2 separate regions of the Homo sapiens genome follow, and region 1 is linked to region 2. The links are contacts of gene promoters, found by promoter capture Hi-C in blood cells and fetal thymus (Javierre and others, 2016). All regions are on one chromosome and are shown on one strand. The core of a region is centred on a gene start or on the middle of the fragment in contact, and the rest is flanking DNA. Distances in the headings are between cores, read along the strand shown. Region 1 overlaps KDM2A (lysine demethylase 2A). Region 2 holds the start of POLD4 (DNA polymerase delta 4, accessory subunit).

The links. Contacts are between HindIII fragments. The CHiCAGO score rates a contact against its expected background, and 5 or more counts as called.
Region 1: a fragment that was not itself captured here is called in contact with the fragment with the promoter of POLD4 in region 2 in 2 of 17 cell types (total CD4 T cells and non-activated CD4 T cells); the score reaches 6.1 in total CD4 T cells.

The regions. Positions count from the first base shown.
Region 1 is chr11:67,248,082-67,254,014 of GRCh38, forward strand. It overlaps KDM2A (lysine demethylase 2A), which reads left to right. Exons shown (of 21, transcript NM_012308.3): 16 at 200-289; 17 at 2,005-2,717; 18 at 4,613-4,776; 19 at 5,372-5,530. Among named protein-coding and RNA genes, the nearest start is that of GRK2, 15 kb to the right of the region's middle. RefSeq lists an enhancer at 5,418-5,933. The HindIII fragment of the contact is 3,131 bases long and covers 156-3,286 here.
Region 2 is chr11:67,349,237-67,355,395 of GRCh38, forward strand. POLD4 (DNA polymerase delta 4, accessory subunit) reads right to left here and starts at 4,310. Exons shown (of 4, transcript NM_021173.5): 1 at 4,067-4,310; 2 at 3,752-3,841; 3 at 3,455-3,566; 4 at 1,536-2,783. The coding sequence starts at 4,163. The coding sequence ends at 2,759. The region is part of intron 2 of LOC100130987 (a long non-coding RNA gene); the gene reads left to right. RefSeq lists enhancers at 2,990-3,572, 3,573-4,154, 4,148-4,197 and a silencer at 4,378-4,627. The HindIII fragment of the contact is 23,887 bases long and covers 497-6,159 here.

The sequences.
Region 1 (5,933 bases), core at 471-2,970, 100 kb before region 2:
ACCCAAGCTATCAGAACCTGTGCCGCACTGTCAAGATCAGGTTCAGCACCATTGGCTATTTGGGGCTGGATTGCTCACAGTTTTTCTCCCTTTATGGACCAATGTTGTTGAGAAATGAGTAACTCTTCCCAACTGTGTTATTGTTGGATAAAGGAAGCTTGAGAGACAGGCTTTTAAAAACATCTCTGTCTTCCTATAGATGGACGGAGAGGGGTTGCTTAACGAAGAATTGCCAAATTGCTGGGAATGTCCAAAGTGCTACCAGGAGGACAGCTCGGAGAAAGCCCAGGTAAAGGAACCTTATCAGATTTGCACTGTGACAGAAAGGAGGCATCAAATGTGGGGGATTGCTACACGTTTGCCTTTGCATTAGTGTTCACACAGTTTCTCTGACCTAGGAGATTATTTTTGTTTGGTTTGGTATGTTTTTCCTTTGGTTAATTTTTAGTATTTTCTTTGTTAGAGTTTGTAGCATTGTGTTTTGTATTACTAAATGTTGTTCCACTTGGGATCTGCAAATTCCTAAGGTCCTTTTATACTCTGGGGCCCTACAAAGAGAGGAACCACGGCTGGGCTATTTGAGGAGAGAAATTAGGTGAGTATGATCCCTCCTGAGGAATGTTAACTAGAGGAGAGGCAGTGGCCTGAGGCAGCCAGTGAGTGCAGCAGTGTACTTGAGCTTCCAGTTAAGCAGGTTCACATTTTTGTCATCTTCACTTTTGTGGCCTGGCAGAAAGCCCTGCCCTGCCCATCCCACATGCCCAAATGTGTCATGTGGAGGCAGCCCCTCCCCCAGAGAGGACCAGTGCTATGACCTTGGCCCAGAGGAGCTGAGGTTGCTGACCAGTGGTTGCCAATAATGTCAAAGGGCCAAAAGGACTGTACTTACTCAGGCTGACAAGGCAAGACCAGCTGTGGACACCTACAGGAGGAGATGGCTTTCCAAGTGCCAGTCTTTCAAGGACCCTTGCACGGGAGCAGGGAAGGGGGCAGAAAGGAATTTTCTTACTTTTTATTTCTTCCCACTTGGATACTAAGATAGTTGAATTTTTCAATCTATTTGTCTTTGAGGGCAAGGATTTTTGAAGTTGACTAGGGCCAAAGTTCTCCTTAGTTCTTGCACTAGTGACCTTTACATGTGTCTTCATTAGTGATGTTGAGTGTTTGCATCTCTGCTGTAGCAGATGTGTTGTTGGCAGATGGCTGTGTTTTAGTATTACCTTCTAATACATTGGAAAAGGTAGCACCCAAAAGGTGGTCATTTTCTTCCAACCATAATGATAAAAAAATGTAAGGAGGAAAAGGAGCAGAGAACAGGGTTGTTGCTTAGAGACATAAAATGTCTCCTTGCAAAAAACCTGAACTACTGATACGGTTCCTAGTGGAACATGTTTACTGGGCTTTGTCATAGCATAGTCATAGTGGGCTCCAGGAAAAGACAAGTATCTAGAGAGCACAAATGCCACAGATAAAGTTGGGGGCTCTTGTGGGATTCCTCACCATAATCCTGAGTGAATCTCTCTGTAGCAACCCAGTTTCTCAGAGAGGTTCTTGTTATCTGCTTTATTATTCACGTGGGGGTTGGAGTGGAAGACGCAGCCTGGTGGAGTCAAACTTAGACTGTGGTAGAGCTAGAAGCCAATGGTGTTTACCATTGTCAGACTCAGGATCTTAGTTCAAATGGTATATGTGGGCTTTTTCCACCATGAAACAGAAATACGTCTCTTGGGTGAAAGAGGTAAGTCAGAGACGCAATTAAAAATGGTCAGGCCAGGTGCAGTGGCTCACACCTATAATTCCAGCACTTTGGGAGGCCAAGGCAGGTGGATCACTTGAGCCCAGGAGTTGGAGACCAGCCTGGGCCGACTCTGAGGGAATGACCCCCTCTCCAACGTGACCTTTCTTCTCTCTGGTCCCCTGAGAGCAAGGGAGGTCCACCCTGTCGGTTCAGAGGGTTTGGAAGAAAGGAAGCACTGATGTTGCTTTTCTGGGCCTGTTTTGCAGAAGCGGAAAATGGAAGAGAGTGACGAAGAAGCTGTGCAAGCCAAAGTCCTGCGGCCCCTGCGGAGCTGCGATGAGCCTCTCACGCCCCCGCCTCATTCACCCACTTCCATGCTGCAGCTCATCCATGACCCGGTTTCCCCCCGGGGTATGGTGACTCGGTCATCCCCTGGGGCTGGCCCCAGCGACCACCACAGTGCCAGCCGCGATGAGCGCTTCAAACGGCGGCAGTTGCTGCGGCTGCAGGCCACAGAGCGCACCATGGTACGGGAAAAGGAGAACAATCCCAGCGGCAAAAAGGAGCTGTCTGAAGTTGAGAAAGCCAAGATCCGGGGATCGTACCTCACTGTCACGCTACAGAGGCCCACCAAAGAGCTCCACGGGACATCCATTGTGCCCAAGCTGCAGGCCATCACGGCCTCCTCTGCCAACCTTCGCCATTCCCCCCGTGTGCTAGTGCAGCACTGCCCAGCCCGAACCCCCCAGCGTGGGGATGAGGAGGGGCTGGGGGGAGAGGAGGAGGAAGAGGAGGAGGAGGAGGAGGAAGATGACAGTGCAGAGGAGGGGGGTGCAGCCAGGCTGAATGGCCGGGGCAGTTGGGCTCAGGATGGAGACGAAAGCTGGATGCAGCGGGAGGTCTGGATGTCTGTCTTCCGCTACCTCAGCCGCAGAGAACTTTGTGAATGTATGCGAGTGTGCAAGACGTGGTATAAATGGTGAGCAGGGATTCAGGGGGTCAGGAATTAGGGGTATGGGAGTAGGTGGCAGGTTTTCCATATGAGAACAGCATGCACCTTGGCATCTGAAAGCCTGTGGGGTCTTATGAGGAGTGAATTGACCCTTTTTCCCAAACTTTGGGTCCTGTTTAAAGATGTAGCCTGTTGTACCCGCAGATGTCATTAGGGAACTGGCCATTTGCCTCCTGGCCCTGCTCTATACTTTCCCATGTCTCATTGTTATGGGGAGGGAGACTGATTTGCGGGATAGATTTGTAGTCTGTGATAAAACTTGAGAGTCTTGCGGGCTGAAAATTTCCTCCTCAAGTCAGCTGAACTCATCACATGTTGGTTGAGAGCCTATGATGTTCTAGTCACTCTTCTGGTGCTGATAACACAGATAACCTCACTTAAGCCCCTGACTCAATTACCTCTCCATTCAGTGAGAGAAGTGGGCATGCTTTTCAAGATGAATTTGAAGGTGCTTAACATTTTTCTTCAGTTTTAATGCTCATCCCCCCAAACCTGGATCAGAATTCCCTCTTCCAGCAAGCAGAGTCCAGTTTTGAAGCTTCCTTAATGAGAGCTACCATTTCTTCTTAAGTTGGACAGACACTTGGGGGAAAAAATTGCTAGTGATGATGAACAAGGAGCTTCCCATTGGGCATTGTTGGTTTTTCCTTAAACTCTGGTATATATTTACTCTAGGATATATCCTTTTTATCTGGGTCACACACATCCTATTACAGTAGTGTGGTGTCCTGACCAATGGCATTCACTCAGGAACTTTTTAGAAATGTCAACTGTCAGGACCCTCATAGGCCTCTTAAATCAGAACCTCTTGGGTGGGCCCAGCAGTCTGCTTTAACAAGCGCTCCTCCAGGGGACTCTGATGCATGCTCGAGTTTAGAGCAGCAAAATCTGCTGTATTGTCAGCAGCTTGCTTCTGCCATAGAAGCTTCATGTGCCACTGGTAAAATTGTTTCAGTCTCTAAATAGACCCTATTCTTTGCAAACATGAGTTTATTTCCCAAATCTGAATTAATGTATAGTGTATCTAAATTCTCCTTAATATTTCTCTGTCTAGGGCTAATAGGACTGCTTGGCTCTACCTCTTGGTTTTCAGGGCAAGGCACATCAGATTCCCGTTATGTGCTGTCTCTCTTCCCCTGCCAACCAGGCTGGGGGGCAGGGGCTATAAAATATTAAATTGAAGCCAGCATGTTGTGGTTTGTGGCCTGTAGATTTGTAGACTGCAGTGGAAAGCCAGGCCTATCCCTTTCAGTTCTGGTCTGGCCTGGCTAGAAAATGTCAGGATAGCACTGAGGCAGAACTTGAGGGTGAGAGAGGACTCTGTAAGCCTGATAAAGAGCCTCTTTTGACCTGATACAGTAATGGGCTGAAGGCAGGGTGAATTGTGGATGTGCTGAGTAGCACCCTGCATTTCAGGCAGCTGCGAGTGATTGACAAGGGAGGGAACGGAGCAGGCCTTCTTAGCTTTAGACAGTAAGAAGTCTAGAAACTTCAAGAGGCTCCCTTATATACACTTCAGCAGGAACCATGCCATTTTAATACAGATGAAGGGGCTATAGACTGTTGCTTGCTATGGGTCCCTAACAACTGTTGTGTTCTCAAACACTCCAGAATAAATCAGGGTAAAGTGGTCAAGTTATATACTATCAACATGTAGGTTTGCAAAGCGTCTAGTTGTTGTAGAGTTCAAGGCAATTTTTTGCCTATTCTGTGAGGCAAAAAATGATAAGGTGTGATCCCTGTACACTTGTAGAAGAACGAGCCTCCAGGTACTCTGCTTTTCCCAGAAGCCATAAGCAGCCTGTGATGGGAGCTCCACTGATCAAGTTAATGAAGGCGAGTTCTCTTCCCTTCTATCACAGGTGCTGCGACAAGAGACTTTGGACAAAAATTGACTTGAGTAGGTGTAAGGCCATTGTGCCCCAGGCCCTCAGTGGCATCATCAAGAGGCAGCCAGTCAGCCTTGACCTCAGTTGGACCAACATCTCTAAAAAGCAACTGACATGGCTCGTCAATAGGCTGCCAGGTAAGTGAGCAGCCCTGCCGCTGTCTTTCCAGGGGCCCAGAAGAAGCGGGCAAGAAAAGTTGCATTATTGGCAGTGCTTCTTAGCATCACTGGAGGGCAGTGTAGGGCAGCAGTCCCATGCCATTGTTGCTTAGCAAGAGGTTTACCCAGGGCCATCTTAAGTGTCAGTCTCCCAGGCAGCACTCTGGACTGGCAGGCCAATCACTGCAATGGACAGCAAAGAGAACGGAATCAGTGTTGCTGCCAGCCCTGCAGTTCTCCTCAGCATAACCACTAAAGAGGAAATTTGAGTCAGATGTTACTTTGGTCAGCTCCTTATAAGCCCTTGTTCTCTTCAGCATTTTGAGCTCTTAGAAAGACAGGAAGTCACTCCTTCTTGTATTGCTCTGGTGGGAACTAAGCAATCAATTTACCACTAAAGCTAGAAGATGTAGTATAGGATACCATGGAAATCTTTGAGCTGGATGACTAAAAGATTAGGCATAGTCCTTCTCTCCTATTAGACTGGAAGTTTGTTCACTTTGCTCAGATCGTTACGGCTCTGAGTATGCTGGGAAACAGTGTATTATTACATGTCTCATTCCATCCATTGCAGGACTGAAAGACCTCCTCCTAGCAGGCTGCTCCTGGTCTGCAGTCTCTGCCCTCAGCACCTCCAGCTGCCCCCTTCTCAGGACCCTTGATCTTCGGTGGGCAGTAGGAATCAAGGACCCTCAAATTCGGGACTTGCTTACTCCACCGGCTGATAAACCAGGTATGCTCTGGACCTGACTTCTCTGTGCTTGTCTTGGGGTAGCTTTGTCTTCCAAACAGACCTCGTCTTCAGAAGCTAAGGTAGTCTCAGATATGACGCTGTGGAAGAATAGAAGAGCACAAAATGAAAACAGAATGATGGACTGTGTACAAGAATAGGGTAACTATAAGCAGATAACTACCTACAAACAATGGAGTAAGTCCATTTTGTGAGTTGGTGGAGTTTGGGGCCCAGAGAGTGTAAGCCTGAAAAAGTCTGAGAAGGCTTTATGGTGGAGGTGGAGTCAAAAGCTATTTGCATGATGGTCTAGAAAAGTGTGGTGGTATTGGAAGGGGAGGAGCATTCTGCACATAGCCTTTTGCTGTGTGCATGAGGCATAATCTAGCAGCTTGAGAAGAAAGAA
Region 2 (6,159 bases), core at 3,060-5,559:
CTCTGTCCTTCCAGTCGCCCAAACCAAAACCTTTGGAGTTATCCTTGGCTCCTCCCTCTTAAATCCCACAGTCGACCAATAGGCAAGTCCTGCCAGTCAGCTCTTCCTTAAAAATACAGAGCGTACCTGGCCACTTCTGAGCAGTCCACCTCCCCACGCTGGTCCAGATCACCCTCAGCTCTCATGAGGCCAACTTCAGTAGCCTCCTGAGTGGTTTTGCTACCTCTGTTTTCCCCAGCTCCACAATCTTGTTTTCCACCAACAGAGTAATGTTTTCGAAACATAAGCTTGACTCTGTCATTTATTGGCTTCAAGCCCTCCAGTATCCTCCCCTCTCACTCAGAATCAAATCCAGTTTCTTATCATGGCCCTAGGGACCAGCCCGCTGCCTGTCTGCCCTCAATTCCCACTACCCTTCCTCACTCCCTGGCCCCCAGCCTCACTGGCCTCCTCAGTGCCTTTCCTGGAGCAGGCTGGAAACACTCCTTCCTCAGGAAGCTTCTCCTTGTTGCTCCTTCTGCCTGGAACCCTCAGATGCAGACCTTGCTCCCTTCCTTCCTTCAAGTCTCTGCTCAAATGCCACCTTAGCAGAGGGCCTTCCCTGACCAGTCTCTCTAACATAGCGCCCCTGGCATCCTTGGACCCTTTCTGATCCCAACTCTGATTTTGCTTACTACTGACTGCTACCTGTCATAATTAACTTACGTGTTTGTTTTTGCCCATCTCCTGACCATTAGTAATACCCCAAGGGGACCTTTGGTGCCTGGCACATAGTGAGTGCTTAGCAGCTGGGCAGGAGGTATGGCATAGTCTGGAAGAGGTTAATGCAAGTGGCCCCTGGTCACTGCACTGCCTCTTGCCTGCTGTGTGCTTTTGGGCAACTTTACTTAACCTTTCTTAGTTTCAGTTCCCCCTCAGTAAAACCTACCTGGAAGGTTTTTTAGGAGGATTCGAGGTAATACATTTAAAGTACCTGAGACATGATCAGTGCTCAGACGGGGGCTACACAGGCCACTTAGCTGCCCTCTAGGCCTGTTTCCAAGAACTTACTAGTGCTGCCTCCATCTACCCCCAGGATAGAGGGCTGCCACAGTAGATGAAGGTAACACTATAGAAGCGGTTACTGACTCTATTCTCCATGTCATACCCTGACCCTGGGTCCCCTGGGCATTGTTTCTGGCTCCAGCCAGTTCTCCTCCATCCCCCAGCACCATCAGTTTCTTTTTTCTTTCTTTTTTTTTTTTTTTTTTTTGAGATGGAGTCTTGCTCAGTCGCCCAGGCTGGAGTGCAGTGGCGCGATCTCGGCTCACTGCAAGCTCCGCCTCCCGGGTTCACGCCATTCTCCTGCCTCAGCCTCCCAAGTAGCTGGGACTACAGGTGCCCGCCACCAGGCCTGGCTAAGTTTTTTTGTATTTTTAGTAGAGACGGGGTTTCACTATGTTAGCCAGGATGGTCTCGATCTCCTGACCTCCTGATCCACCTCCCTCGGCCTCCCAAAGTGCTGGGATTACGGGCGTGAGCCACTGCGCCCAGCCTTTATTTTGTATTTTTTTATTTTTTGAGACGGGGTCTCTCTCTGTCACCCAGGCTGGAGTGCAGTGATGCGGTCTCAGCTCACTGCCAGCTCTGCCTCCCGGGTTCACGCCATTCTCCTGCCTCAGCCTCCTGAGTAGCTGGGACTACACCTGGCTAATTTTTTGTATTTTTAGTAGAGATGGGGTTTCACCATGTTAGCCAGGATGGTCTCGATCTCTTGACCTCGTGATCCGCCCTCCTTGGCCTCCCAAAGTGCTGGGATTACAGGTGTGAGCCACCGCGCCCAGCCATCAGTTTCTTACCAAAGCCCCTCAGATGATGGTCATGTCTGAGCAGGTCCTGCAAGTTGAGACCCTCGCCAGCCCTGCTTTGGATCAAGGTGGCCCCCGATGTGGGAAGCCAGAGGTGCTTGCTGGGAATGTATAGATATGTTTGGACTTCATGAGCTATGGACCCCAGGGGTCCTTCTCTGGCAAAGCACCCATGTTTGTGAGGTGGGCACCGCTTAGCAAGGCAGGTGGCTGGCTAGTCAGGTAGGTTTTCCCTGGCTGCTCCAGAAGGTGAGTCATGAGTAGTTTCCCTGTGGGCCACCAGGGGGCACCAGAGGTCGCTCAGCTCTTCCGAGGACTTGATCCGTCTCAAGATGACTGTCTCCTCCCTCTTCGGCCTAGGACTTTCTTGAAGGAAAAGAGCTGTAGTGGTGCCTCTCTCATCTCCTAACTTGCTAGGGACTGCCAGTCAAAGCAGGGCCACAGTAAAGGACTGAAGGTCAGGATTCCAGGCTCAATATTCTTTATTGATAAGCATTAGTGAACCCCTTGCCCTGGGAGCTCAGCCAGTCCTGCTCTCAGATTCCTGGCCTTAGGTGGGAGAGCATCTTTTCCTCATGGATCAACTGTCCATGTCTGACTGTGCCTAACTTGCCAGATCATGGGTCAGGGAGACAGGCAGCAGGTATTGGAAGGTGATGGCCAGGTCCTTTTCCCCAGTGACCACTCTCCATCTAGAAGCACTCTGCTTCAGCTGCGCAGGCTCTTCCGGGGACTCTGGGAGCCTGCTGGTTAGATGGAGGAGTTGAGCCTCTGACACCTCCAGGTTCTGCCTGCCAAGGGTTCCTCCGCAGCCGGGCTGAGCTGAGCAGGAGCAATGGGCTCTCGCTTCTGTCCTGAGGTTCTTGGGTGGTGAGCAAGAGAGCTAAGGGCAGGAGGTCTTACGTGGTGCCTCATAGGGGATAGAGATGCCAGAGACTGTGGAAGATGGGGTGGGAGGGAGGGATACCCCAGAGAGAGAGAGAGAGAAACAGAGAATCAGTTGTTGAGTCCCTGGATCTGATTTCACCAGCTTATTCTTGGCCATGCCCATAGTCCTTGGGAAACCCCTCAGTTCTAAATAGATAGTTCCTTGGGTCCTGGGTGTACCTTTGCCCCCCACTAGCTTGTAGAGGTAAGAATTATTGGCCGGGTGTGGTGGCTCACGCCTGTAATCCCAGCACTTTGGGAGGCTGAGGTGGGTGGGATCACGAGGTCAGGAGATCAAGACCATCCTGGCTAACACGGTGAAACCCTGTCTCTACTAAAAATAGAAAAAATTAGCCGGGCGTGTTGGCGGGCGCCTGTAGTCCCAGCTACTTGGGAGGCTGAGACAGGAGAATGGCGTGAACCCGAGAGGCGGAGTTTGCAGTGAGCCGAGATCGCGCCACTGCACTCCAGCCTGGGCAACAGAGCAAGACTCTGTCTCAAAAAAAAAGAATTATTATAGTGGCGTGTCCTCCTGAGCCAGGCACCTCATAGAATCTTCTTGCCTGTTCAGCAAGGCCTTCCAACCCTCCATCCATTTCTCCCTCAGGTCAGGACAGCAGGGTGACAGTGCCTGGAGAAGGCCCTGGCTCCCCTGAAAGCCCTCCCGGCCTGTCTCTGACCTGCACTGGAAGCGGGGGTCTCCGGGGTGGGTCTTCAGCACCTGCCACACCTCTGGGGGAGGCTCCAAGCCCATCTGCTTGGCCCGACACCAGCGCTGCAGCCGTGTGATCCCTGCCAGGGTGGGAAGAAGACTCTGGAGACTTGTGGGGGGTGGGGTAGAGTCTGAGCTGGAGAATGTGTGTGTTGGGGGGAGACAGTTCCTGAGGGTCAGAGTCACGCAAGCGCTTGGGTGACTTCAGAGACGTGTGGGTGACTGGCTGGGAGAGGCGCCTCCGTGGGGCTGGGTGGGTTCTCACCGGTGCAGGGCCCGTACTGCCAGGCCAGGTCAAACTGCCTCAGCAGCTCCAGCTCCGCTTCCTCCTCGTCGCGGGGCTGGGGCTCCTCCCCTGCAATGACAGCTGCTCTTCAGTACGAGGTTGGCTTCAGTCTCCTGCCCCTCACCTCCCAGCCTTCCTCACCACCGCTTTGCCTCTGCCACCCCGCAGCTAGACCTGGTGTCGGGAGGGGAGGACAGGCCACCTTTCCCTTTCCATCGGCCCCTCCGCCCCTCTAGGGGCCTCCTCTAGGCCCCTCCGTGTCCACTCCTCCTGCCTCCCTCACACCTCAGAGACCTAGCTCGGGTGCCAGCTCCCCCTTGCTGTGCCCAGCGGGCCCCTCCCTCCTCTTCACAACCGGGTAGGAATCAGTGATGAGCCGCTTCCGGCCCATGGCGGCCACCCAGGCAGGCAGAGAAGGAGGCAACTGCGGGGAAGAGGAGAGACCGGCCAGTGGGCGCGAGAAAGACAGCTGCTGAGAGAGACAGACGGGGCCAGGCCAGCGGCGGGCAGACAAGATGACCCAGACAAACCGAGAGAGGAAGTCGCCGGGGTCCAGGGAGGGACGCCTCCCCCACCCCCAAAAGCACGCAAACAGGAAAGACTTCAGCCAATGGCAGGCCGCCTATGCGGGGCGGGGCCCTGGCGCTAGCCAATGGTAGGCAGTGTAGGGTGAGGGGCGGGGCGGTGCCTCAGCTGTGGGCCGCGGGAGGAGGGGCAGGCTGGGGCGGGGGACCTGTCGGGATGCCCCGACTTCACCACCTTCCCCGGCCCCCATTGGTCTGCTGTGGGTCCCGAGAGACTTCAGGAGAGTTATCTTCAGCCTCTCACTTCCCGTTTTCCCTTCCTAGGCAAATGTTCTTTTCAGCTTCGCTAATCCCCGTGGCCAGTTTGTAACTCCCTAGAGTCCAGCTGGAGCCTTCACTCGGTCCTTTGGCCCGCCCCGCCTTGTGGGGGCAGGTCTGGAGGTCTGAAGAGAGTTTGGGCTAATCCAGGCCCCTTCCCGGCTCCCACCCAACCCCCACTGGCCCCAGGAGACCTGGCTGGAGAAGCCCATGGGTTCTGAAACCTCCTTTCTCACAGTCTGTGCCCAAAGATGCTGCCCACTCTTAGTCCGAGTAAGTGTTTGCCGTTTTGACTCTCCTGGGGTCCCAAGTCGTGTCCGGCCCGCCCCACCAGTCAGGAAGATTCCATACTGAGTAGGAAGGCAGAGCAAGGGTCTGGTCCCCCCACCACAATGTGTTTGGATCCCTAGTTCTTCACTGGCAAAATCTGCCCTGTCTCTCACAATAATGTGAGTCTGAGCAGAAAATATTAATAATAAACCTAACACTCATTGCACGTACCATGTGCCAAGTACTGTTCTAAGCACTTTCCCACATGTTAATTAAAATAGATGTCAAAAAGTTTTTGAAAGTAGGAAGTATAGCTAAATGATTATCACTGCTGATAGTCACAGGCATTGTAGGGCCCCAATCAAACCACAGTCTCTCTTGCACCCCAGGAGCTCACTGTCACAAGGCAGACAGATGCACAGTTGTCAGTGAGAGGCTATAATTCCTACCAGAAGAGGGAAAGGGTGGGTCAGAGATTGGTTAGGACCACAGGGATGATTAGCATTGGAAGGCCTCCTGGAGGAGGTGGACTGCTGTAAACAATGTCTCTCAATTCTCCACCCATGACCTTTGTCCCTTGGGCTCCTGTCATCACTGACTCACCCATACTGCTGCCTCCCCCTCACCAACTTCCTGGCAGGAGGCAAAAGTACTGGCCAGTGGGAGTCTGGGAACCAGCACAGGGACCAGCCCAGCTCTAATCACCCTCCAGAGATCCCATCCGGTTCTTCCTTCCAGGGATACTGGGAGGGTGGGGCACAGACTCCTGGGCTGCTGCCTGCTCAGAGGCCTCTGCCTCCTCCTTTCCCTGCTCTGGGGTCTGGGTGTTCTGCACTGGAAGAGGGCTAAGCCACTGGTACACGTGGGCACAAGGGAGGAAGCTGCTCTGGAAAGGAGACCACCAGAGGGGAGGCAGAGGAGCAGGCCATGTCTTCAGGGTCCACGTCCTGCCTGGCTCTCCCCATCGGCGTCCTAGAGGAGGGAGCTTGTGGGGGCACTGCATGGAGCTGGAGGGCCCTTTCTGCTGTATTGTTTGGGCTGGGCCTAGTCTAATCCCCCCATCTGCCTTGCGGACTAAGTGGGGCCCACATTCAGGGAGACAGTGTCCCTGCGGAGTTAGTGATGGAAGCAGGGAGGCCCTGTCTACCAGGGCTGGGAAGGGCCTAGGTGCTGAGTCCAGTCAGGTGCTGAGCATGCTAGGTAGGGATGGCGTCTAGGCTCTGGGGGATTGACTACCCCTCCCCAGAGGGTCTTGGCAAGGGTTCCTGGGCTGTT